2 separate regions of the Homo sapiens genome follow, and region 1 is linked to region 2. Evidence: promoter capture Hi-C in human tissues and cell types (Jung and others, 2019). All regions are on one chromosome and are shown on one strand. Each heading gives the region's core, a stretch centred on a gene start or on the middle of the fragment in contact. The rest is flanking DNA. Distances are from core to core; before and after follow the strand shown.

What was found. Contacts are between HindIII fragments. The study calls those that stand out against the background at their distance.
Region 1: a contact is called between a fragment that was not itself captured here and the fragment with the promoter of NPHP3 in region 2, in 1 of the 25 tissues and cell types used here (H1 embryonic stem cells).

What each region holds. Positions count from the first base shown.
Region 1 is chr3:133,271,227-133,276,688 of GRCh38, forward strand. The region is part of intron 3 of TMEM108 (transmembrane protein 108); the gene reads left to right. Among named protein-coding and RNA genes, the nearest start is that of TMEM108-AS1, 17 kb to the left of the region's middle. The HindIII fragment of the contact is 6,490 bases long and covers 1-5,138 here.
Region 2 is chr3:132,720,763-132,726,154 of GRCh38, forward strand. It overlaps NPHP3 (nephrocystin 3), which reads right to left and starts at 1,647. Exons shown (of 27, transcript NM_153240.5): 1 at 1,201-1,647. The coding sequence starts at 1,593. It overlaps NPHP3-ACAD11 (NPHP3-ACAD11 readthrough (NMD candidate)), which reads right to left and starts at 1,697. Exons shown (of 45, transcript NR_037804.1): 1 at 1,201-1,697. It overlaps NPHP3-AS1 (NPHP3 antisense RNA 1), which reads left to right and starts at 988. Exons shown (of 11, transcript NR_002811.2): 1 at 988-1,617. RefSeq lists silencers at 1,304-1,553, 1,654-2,163 and an enhancer at 2,404-2,593. The HindIII fragment of the contact is 5,332 bases long and covers 1-4,185 here.

The sequences.
Region 1 (5,462 bases), core at 644-3,143, 550 kb after region 2:
AGTTCTGCTGTAGAACGGAAAGAGTTGGGAAACAGGAGGAGGACCAGAGAATAGGCAGTGCTTGAAAACCCTGTGGAGGCAAATTGTCTGCGGAGTTGGAAACAACCACAACACATTTGTCCTTAGAAAAATATTAATTTTTTAACCTTTTCAATACTATGTTCAAAACCTCTCTCACAAGGTCCACAAACTTTCCTACTACAAGGCTGTCATTTTTGACTAGGAAAATTTGAATTCAGTATTTCAAAAGTGATTTCTTGGAAATAATTTCTTATGTGGTGTCAAGTCTCTGGAGAAAAATGCAGAAGGTCTTTCTGCCCATTAGATGCTGTTCACGAGAGAGAAATAGCAGGAATTAACAGTATGGTGGCTTCACACGATTGCCCAGATAGTGTGTGAGTTCAGGAAGTGTCTTGTTTGCAGGGAGAGAGTGATTAACACAACAGACGCTGCTCTGACTCTCCTATAGGAGTCAGAGGAGACAAAGCTTGGAGCCTACATTTACAAACTGTCATGAGCCAGCCCCACCTAGAAGCACGCTAAGCTTGTTTTAGTCATCTCATTTCTCTCTAGCCCATGGGCCAACCTTATTCCTGCTTTTTTGCATTTATCTGGGTCTCTACTATGTTTCAGCCTCTGTGCTGGGCTTGTATCAACAAGGCAAAGAGAAATTTTACATGATCTCTGTGTTCAAAGACCTCATGTACTTGATACAGAGGTAAATAGATTAGCAAATAACAGCTATTGACAAAATTAATGAATCAATAAAAATGCATTTAAATTATGTTTTGAGCGCTTAACTCTGCTGTAGGAGCTAAAGGAGGCCTCTTAGAGGAGTTAACAGCTGAGCTTTGTGCCTCACAGTTTCCTTAAGGCTGTGCAGATTCTTGGATTCTCGTCAATAAGGCCAAATAGGATATTCCCTCCCATAAGACTTTTTCTCTTAGGCATCTCATTTGTGTCATCTAACACTTAGGGTAATGGGGCGGAGGGGTATGTGGAGTATCTTGCTCTGACTCAGCCTTATAAGAACACCATACACGTACGTGTGTGTGTGTGTGTGTGTGTGTGTGTGTGTGTGTGTGTTTCCTAAAGGAGGACTTATTTTAATATCTGAGAATAGACTTCTAGGAACTTCCTTGATGTACAGAAATCTCATAGACCCTATGGTCATTACTGCAAAGAATCATCCCATTTTAGAGCTGGCATTTACCTTCTAAATCAACTCATCCTTTTTACAGTTGATGGAGGTTAAAGCCAGGGATGCTAAAGGACTGCCCAAAGTCACGCAGCTAACCACGGGCAGAGCCAAGTCTAGGACCAAGGCCTCAGTTCTATGCAATTTTTATGGTACCTTGCAGGTCCCCCCAAGGGGCACACATCTGTCAGCATAGTGGGATGACTAGGAGCAAGCATTACACTAGGGGCAGGGGTTAGGAGTGATGTATGAGATACTACTGAATCATAGAGCTGGAAGGGCCACTAGAGGTCATCTCGCTTACCTCCTGCATTTTTCTGATGAAGAAAGAGAAGATGGGGAAAGTGAACCTGATCTTCTCAGCCAGGGGAGGTATTGCCCTCTAAGAGGGATATGGAAATGTATGGGACCATTTTTGGCTGTCACAATGACTGGGAAATGATATTGGCACTTAATGGGCAGATGCCAGGGATGCTTAACATATATTGAGTGGAACAGTTCTACCAATGACAAATCACCCAGCCCCAGATGTCAACAGCGTCCGCATTGATAACCATGAAAAGAGCCCCCATTACAGACAGAGAAGGGACCAGGCTCTGAGGTGGTTTGCCCAGTAGTTTGTCATTGTGTGTACATTTAGGGGTGGGTCACAAACCCCTCTGAGAATCAAATAAAAACTTCCTTTTCATAGAAACCTACACATACACAAGAACTTTGCCCTTAATTTTAGTGGGTTAATGAGCCCCTTTAACCCATCAATGAACCACAGGTAAATAACCCTAGTCTTAAAAGAGACTTAAAGGTGGAGAAAATTAAATATGTATGTGTTTTCTTATGGATAAAAATTGTCTTATGATGTGTCCAATGGAATGAAGAGTAAATGTGGGTTTTTTCCCTACCAAGTGAACACAGTGGTATCCAGACTCTTAGATTCTTTCTTTTGTTCATTCATCAGAAGCCTTGGATTTTTATCCATCACTTAAGAAGTATAGCTATTATTTCCTATTGATAGTCAAACTAAACACCACGTCTACCTCCCACACCTTCCTTCCCTTTCTCTCCCCACAGTAAGTACTCAGCAGGACTGACGTAGGAAGCAGGAGTGGGTGCTGACTTCAAAGGGTCCCTCTCCCTGAACTTTGGAGAGTCCCTTCTTCAGGAGTGTGAGTTCTGGGTGAGTGGTGGAAGAACTGCAGGCTTTAAATGCTAGTCAAGGTGTAAATCAGATACTGTGTTTTAAAATGTGCTGAGTAATTTCTGACTCATTAAATCAGTTAAATTACAAAATGCTCCATTTCAAGATGCTCTATTTCATCCATTTGCAACAAGTCATGGCAAACGGAAGAAATAGATTAGCCAATCATGCCTCCATGGTGTTGTTGAAGAGAATAGAGGAGAGGAGAGATGGACGACTCACTACCACTCTGTGAGAGAAGACTTAGGGTCAGGCGTAACAGTCAGACCAAGCAGTCTTATAGGATAGATATTCTTCAAGGGTTTTACATCTCATTTACTCCTGACAGCAATCCTTCGGGGCTTATTTTCTTGTCTATTTTACTAATGAAGAAACTGTGGCTGAGAGAGGTTAAGTACTTTTTCAGTTGAGTCAAAATTCACACCCAGTCCTATGTGACTCCTAGGCCAAGTTCTTTTCACCCCAATGCTTCCCAGCGAGTTTGTATGAACACAGGTAATGCTGCTCTCAAACAGCTAAAATTATCTGCACAGCGGATGCATGCCCCACTGCCTTCCCATCTACAAGATCCATCTCAGATTGTTCTTGGTTATTCCAGTATGCTGAGGACAAGCCTTCTGACTTTGGTTTCATTTTGTTTTGTTTTTCATAAACTGTGCTTCTGTCGAGGCTGTAGAGAATCCTGTTAGGACAGTATGTCGTGATTTAAACTGTGGCTGATGAGTGACTCCCTTCTTTCCTTCTCTTGCCTCAAACCTTTCCTTTCTCTTATGATGGGAGAGACCAAGTGTACTTCTGCATGCACAGTGCCTGGAGGTCTTCCCAAGCCTGGCTTGGAGGTATCAAAAAGGAATCTGTACCTAACTTTCACAGAATGGTTTCCACTTAGCTGGGGGCTTTGTTTTGTCCCCCAAAGTAGCTGGTGACTTTGTTTTGTCCCCCAAAGTGTTTCATTCTTTTTCCCTTGTAGATTTGTTTCTCTGTGAATTTATCTAAAGACAGTGGTGTGCTGTTGGGCAAGAAGTCCTTTCCTACTGCCTCCTGTAGGAGAGCTGTAGTTACTGCTGAACAAATGACAACCTGCCCACTGCAATAATAACAACCATTTCCCTGGGTGACAAGTATCTAATTAAGTGAATGCCTTGGGTCAAGGGGTCATATTTCTGCAGGCAGTGGACCTTTGTACCATTTGCCAGTCAGGGGGTTAGACACATTCCCTACCCTCCCTGCTGGGTGTGAGTTTCTACACCTGAGCCATTGCCAGCAGAGCTGATGAAGGAACTTACCTCAGAGTCTCTAAATGAAGTCCACTGCTCTTAGATCTGCTAAGAAATATCTCAAAACCATTGGTTCCAAGTTGATTGATTGATTTTCCTATTTCCATCAGCAAAAACCATAAATACTCAATTAAACTCTAAAAGTGGTCTTAGAATTCCAACACCAAGTATAGAGGACTTAATTATTTTAATGGGGGAGGGGAAAGAGCGCTAGATCAGGAGTCAGAAGACTAAAGGTTTAGCTCTGACTCTACAACTAACTGCCCACATGACCCCAGTAACTTTCTTATCTAGTTTCCCCAATTGAAAATGGGAGTTTTTTCCTTAGATACTCTTTAAAAGCAGTACTGTCCACTAGAAATATAATAGGAATCACATATGTAATTCTTAATTTTCTGAATTTTAGCAACATTAAAAATAAAAAGCAAGTAAAATTGATTTTAATAATATATTTTATTTAACCAGTATATGCAAAATATTATTTTAACATGTAATTGGATTTTTCACATACATTTTCCATATTAAGTTTTTGAAATTCAATGTGTATTTTACACTTACATTGCATTTAAGTTCAGACTAGACACATTTCAAAGGTTCAGTTTGGCCACATGTGGCTGATGGCTACTGTATTGGATAATGCAGCCTGGACTCTTTTCTGGCTATTAATTTTTTTGTGTATGTCCCAATCCGTTACTTGCAACTCTTGAGGTTAGATGGATAATTTAGAATTTTTTATGTTTTAAAATGAAATACAGTATTTATTATTTATTAATACCCCAGGGGGATCTGGAGCAGCACTCCATGATCAAACAAATAAATATTTCTGTAGCAAAAAGTATGACAATACACACTGAGATAAAGAAAGACAATAAATAGCTTTATATAGGTTGGGTATTGCTGCCAAGTGAGTAACAGGAAAAAAAAACTTTCATTTTTCAGAGGATTTGCCTTTTGAAATTGCAGATAAAGGATTGTGAGTCTGTATCACAAAAACTGTTCAGTATTAGGTTCAGTATTTGCTTAGTTGCTTTATTTGTCAAAAATTGGCCTAGCATTACTATGACAGTGCAGTTGTCCTTTGACTAGCCATGGACGTGGCATTCTGGTTAAATCATCTCCCTTGTTTTGACTCTTAGTAGTGGTAATTGTCTCCAGCAAGCTGAAAGGGTGACCCGTGGAGCCATGGAGACTTAGGATTGCTAGATTAAATATAGGATGCCCAGGTAAATTTGAAATTAAGATAAATAGCAAACACATTTTAAGTGTAAACATGTCCCATACAATATTTGAATTTCATATAAAATTCAAATTTTACTGGGTGTCCTGCATTTTGTTTTAACTCTGGCACCTCTACCATGTTAAAAGCCATTTCAGCAAGTGGTTACTGATTCTTGTGGGGCCAGCCAAGGGAGTGTAAGGGAAGACTTTCTCATCTTGTATCACGTTTGCTCAGAAAGACCATATAAAGCAGGCTGGATGGTTAAGGAGAATGGAAATCTGGTTGTTTTGATTCTAGAATCCAAAAAATTAGGAATGACAAAGAATTCAGCTACAGGTATGGCATTTGCAATCCTGATGTGGGCCTTGATCATGGCAGAAGGCTAATCTAACAGGTGTTCTTAATTGACTGTCTTAAAGCCCTTAAGAATCTTGTCAGGTCATAGCCACATACCAATTATGTAGCCCCTGATTTGGGGGTTTCTTAATCTCTATCAAGGATTCCAGAAAGAAAACCGAAGAGAGTAAACTAGGAACTATCTCTATTTTTTTAAATATGGGGTGGGAAGTGGTG
Region 2 (5,392 bases), core at 397-2,896:
ACCCCGACTGTAACGACTCCGGGAACTCTTAGGCTGCCTATAAGTCTCTCCCACAGTAAAGAGTACACAAACGACACAACAACGACCAGAGGGGCCCCAAACTGAGGGCAAAAAGTTTTAGAGATTCGTTCACAGAAAAGCAACCTCTTGCTTTATACTATTTTTTTTTTTTTGATACGGAGTCTCGCTCTGTCACCCAAGCTGGAGTGCAATGGTGCAATCTCGGCTCACTGCAACCTCCGCCTCCCGGGTTCAAGCAATTCTCTTGCCTCAGCCTCCTGAGTAGCTGGGATTACAGGCGCGTGCCACCATGCCCGGCTAATTTTTGTATTTTTAGTAGAGACGGGGTTTCACCATGTTGGCCAGGCTGATCTCGAACTCCTGACCTCAGGTGATCCGTCCGCCTAGGCCTCGAAAAGTGTTGGGATTACAGGCGTGAGCCACCACGCCCGGCTGCTTTACATACTATTTTATTGAATTATAATGGACCTGCTACATGGAGGGCATGCAATAATTGCTTTTAGCGTAAATTAATCAAATGGACTAGGGAAATTTGACTACATCTAGAGAAGGTTTTCAACCATGGTGAGATCAGGAGGCTTCCAGAAATTTTCATGTCAAGACCATTAAAATGCAAGAGCGATGAAACTTTACAAAGAAACCGACACTTGAGCCCCACTTTGGAGACCCACTTAAAATTTTTATGGTGGGGAGGGGGGTGAAACTCCTAGGAAGAGTTTGCTGAGTTGCTTCAACAGATGTCACCAGCCTTCTGAGGGGGTGGGCGCGGGGGCGGCAGTGGAGCTGGAGATTGGCATTTGCCTCCTCAGGACACTTTCCGGCTAATTTCTTCTAGGTGCCTCAATGAATAAACCAGAAATAGAAAAGCGGGGACCAGGCGCGGTGGCTCACTCCTGTAATCCCAGAACTTTAGGAGGCCGAGGCGGGAGGATCATTGAGCCCAGGAGTTCCAGGTTGCAGTGAGCCGCGATCGTGCCACCGCAGCGAGACCCTGTCTCCAAAAAAAGAGACAGAAAAAGGGGAGGGTTAAGGAATCATTTCAGACTCGAAGAGAATATGGCCTCTCAAATTAAAATGGGCAGTTTCCGCCGAACTTTCAAAGCCGCTTGGTTTGGAGAGGGAGCAGGACGGCCGTGCTTCCCAAGGGTCTCCCGGCGTCGCGGCCCAGCCCGGCGTTACCTGCAGTTCGGCCCGCAGCCGCTTGTTCTCCGTGTCCAGCTTGGCCTCGCGGCGGCCCATGGACAACAACTCCTGGTTCTTGCTGACGCGAAAGATCTCGTACTCCTTCCTGAGCCGCTCGTACTCGGCCGCCGCGTACTCCAGCTCTGGCACCGACGAGCCAGTGGACTTGAAGCTGGCCCCCAGCAGCCCGCCCGCGCCCACCCCGCGGGGCAGCGACCCGGGCCCGGCCCCTGCTGCCGCCCCCGCGCCTCGGCGGAACGAGTTGCGCAGCAGGCGGGCCTTGGGCTTCACCTCCACCGGGATCTCGCAGGCCTCGCCGCCGCCCGCCCCGTACGTGTCCTCGATCACTTCCCCGCCCGCGGGGCTCACGAGCGACGAGGCGGTCCCCATGGCGTCCGTTGCCGCTACTACCTAGTGAGTACCAGCAGGACTGGGCAGCGGAACGGAACGGGACGGGGTGGGGCAGAGGAACGGAACGGGACGGGGCGGGGCAGAGGAACGGAACGGGACGGGGCGGGCCAGCGGGATGGAGCGGGGCCGGAGAGCAGGACTGGGCGGAGCAGCGGGACGGGGCGGAGCAGCGGAACGGGGCGAGGCGGGGGAGCGGGATGGGGCGGGGAAACAGGAGGGGCGGGGCAGCAGAACTGGGCGGGGCGGGGGTGCAGGACGGGGCGGGGGAGCAGGACGGGGCGGGGCAGCGGAACGGGGCGGGGCGGGGCCGGAGAGCCGGACGAGGCGAGGCAGCGGAACGGGGCGGGGAGGGAGAGCGGAAGGGGGTGGGGCAACTGGAGGGGCGGGGCAGCGGAACGGGACGGGGCAGCGGAACTGGGGGGATGGGCGAGGGGGACGGGGCGGGGCAGCAGGGCTAGGCGGGACAACAAGAGGGGCCGGGCAAGTGGGGCGGGGCATGTGGGCGGGGCAGGGCAAACGGGGGTGGGTCGAGAAAGCACACAGGGCCAGGCGGGCTAGCAAGAAGGGCGGGGCTAGCAGGAAGGATGGGGGGAGTGGCGACTGTGCAGGACCAGCAGTGGACCGGACGCTGGTGGAGGGGTGCTCCGAACGCTGGTGGAGTGGTGCTCCGACATAGGGCTTCTCTCCGTTGTCTCCGCCCGGCTCGAGGCTCCCTGGCGGGCGTGCCTCACAGGGAGCACAGGCCTGGGTCCCAGCTGCTCTACAAACGCTGCAGCTATTTCTTTCGCTGCCGCCGTGCCTGACCGGAAACTCCTTTCTGGAAGCAGTTGGGAAATCTGAAAAATTTATGGAGTGCCTGCTATGTGCTTCCCGCGATATCTCTCTCTCAGTATGCATGTAGATAGAATGACCAGCAAGGAATAATGCCAGCAAAGAAAGAGCTTTTAGATTTTACAGTCTGAAACCACCAGGGACAATCCTTAGACAAGGTTAAGTTTTTTAACTCATTGCGGCATGGGACATTGGAGACCGCACACCAGTCTCTCCTTCATTCCCTCCATCAAAGTGGCTAGTCATCTCTTCTCTTACCCTTTAGATTTTCTTCAGGAAGTAGTCATACTAGGCCTTTGCATTCTTCAAAATCCAGAGTGTATATACTAATTTCTTCAGGTGGTCTCCTGAGATAAAGGGAAATATTTCCACCATCACAGTACCTTAAGAACTTTCTACCTTTTCAAATCCGTTCTGATTTCTAACTTCAAATTTTTGAATTCTCCATGTGGATCAGGGGTTTAAGGATCATCCACTAGGTTTCTGACTAAACCCTTTGAACATTTTTGCATCTTAGTACCTCCTTTGGAATGGGCCTCAGCTGAACACTTCCATAACTATGCTTGAGTAAGAAGATAAAATAGCCATCACCCATTCTCTCCAACAAATAACCAAACTCACTATGCTAACTTCCTACAGCTTGGGGAGTACATTCAGATTCTACAGTCTGGAACTGAGTGCTCTGAAGCATGCATCTCTCCTTTCCCCACGTCATTTCTATCCAGTGACATGCCTCTAATCCACATTTCTCCACCCTACTTGCGTACTGATCTTAGATTACTATTGGTCAATGCCAAAGTGACCAAATTTCTTAATCCTAAAAAATGACATTATTTCTTCCTGGCTAACACGGTGAAACCCCGTCTCTACTAAAAATACAAAAAAATTAGCCAGGCGTGGTGGCAGGCGCCTGTAGTCCCAGCTACTCGGGAGGCTGAGGCAGCAGAATGGCGTGAACCTGGGAGGCGAAGCTTGCAGCCGAGATGGCGCCACTGCACTCCAGCCTGGGCGACAGAGCGAGACTACGTCTTTAAAAAAAAAAAAAAGACATTATTTCTAACCTCATAACCTGTTTTTCTTCATGCTGAATTTAACCCACGTACTTCAGTCTGCATTTTGAAAGAATAACTTTTAATACAGAAATATAGTGAGAATAAAATATTTGGCAGGTGGCTTATAACTTACTAAAGATGGCCACATTTTTTTTTAATAGTCCTCCCATAGAAAAGACAGCTAAGACAGCTACACAATTTGTGGGACCCAGTGAAAAATGAATATGTAATGCCCCTTATTCAAAAATTATAAATATTTTCAAGATGGCTACAGCAGAGCATTAAGCCAAGTATGGGGCCCTTTTGAGTTTTGGGCCCTGCGTTACTGCACATGGGGTTGCATGGCCATGAAGCAAGCCTGTATATGACTCCTCACTTTGAACCTGAGTGAACTCTGACCGCTTGGACCAGTGGAATGTGGCAGAAATGACACTGTGCCAGTTTCCAAGCCCAGGTCTTGAGAGAATGGCGACTTCCACTTCTTGTGTCTTGGAACACTCGGGAGTGTTGAGCCACCATGTAAAGACTTACTAACCTGAGACTGCCCAAATTAAGAGGTCATATGTAGGCATTCCAGGTGACAGTCTCAGCTGGGCCCAGCTTTCCAACCAGAGTACCAAGACATGTAAAATGAAGCCATCTTGGACTCTTCAGACTAGTGCATTCACTACTTAGAAATTAAGTGACTTCTGTATACACTACAGGGGAGAAAATCACCCAGCCAACCTCTGCCCACATTTCTGGCCCACAAAATCATGAGATATAATAAAATTACTGTTGGTTTGAGCCATTACATTTTGGTAATTTGTCTTTTCACCTGGAATAAGAAAAAATGTCTCTACATTTGATCGGGCAGCCTATAAATTGATAAACAATGCTACTGTCTTTTTTTTTTTTTTGAGACGGAGTCTCGCTCTCTCGCCCAGGCTGGAGTGCAGTGGCACGATCTCGGCTCCCTGCAACTTCTGCCTCCTGGGTTCAAGCGATTCTTCTGCCTCAGCCTCCCGAGTAGCTGGGATTACAGGCGTGCACCACCACCCCCGGCTAATTTTTTTGTATTTTTAGTAGAGACGGGGTTTCACCATCTTGGCCAGGCTGGTCTTGAACTCCTCACCTCATGATCCACCCACCTTGGCCTCCCAAAGTCCTGGATTAGAGGCCTGAGCCACCGCACCCGGCCTGCCATTTTTTTTTAAATGGGATTGGTAGAATAAATATCATTTGGGTAGAGTAGTGTGTATTTGGTCTTCAGACTATGAATCTCACAATCACTTGGGACATTTGGTAAAAATTTGGGGACCTTGACAATTTTGCATGTTTAGTTACTTCCCAGGTGATGCTTATGTACTTTAGGATCTCAGAACACTGAGACTGCATAAAAATTGTGGCTAGGGATGATCTAATTCCTCGCTACTCAAAGCATGGTCCTCAGGCAGTAGCATCAACATCACCCTGAAGCTTGTTAATCAGATTCTCACATGCTATCACTGACCTCCTGAATCACAATTTGCAGATTAAAAAGATCTCCCAGGTGATGTGAATATAGATTAAAATTTGAGAAGCACTACTGTAGAAAAATGGTTCTTAACCTTGGCTGCACATTACCATCACCTGGAGAACTTAAAAAAATAAAGACTGCTGCCTGGGCCTCACCCTAGACCAATTAGATCAGAATTTCCAGGAGTTGAGGTCTGAACATCATTAATTTTTTAAAGCTCCCCAGCGGATTTTAATCAGTAGTCAAGGTTAAAAACCAATGGTTTCACCTCGGCCATCTCATTATTGCCAACATGTGTGTGATCCCCATTGGTAACCATCTCAGTATCTGTTTACATGTATACAGATTCCTCTGTGACCTTTCTTCGCAGTTCATCATAGTGAAGGCAAATGTAATT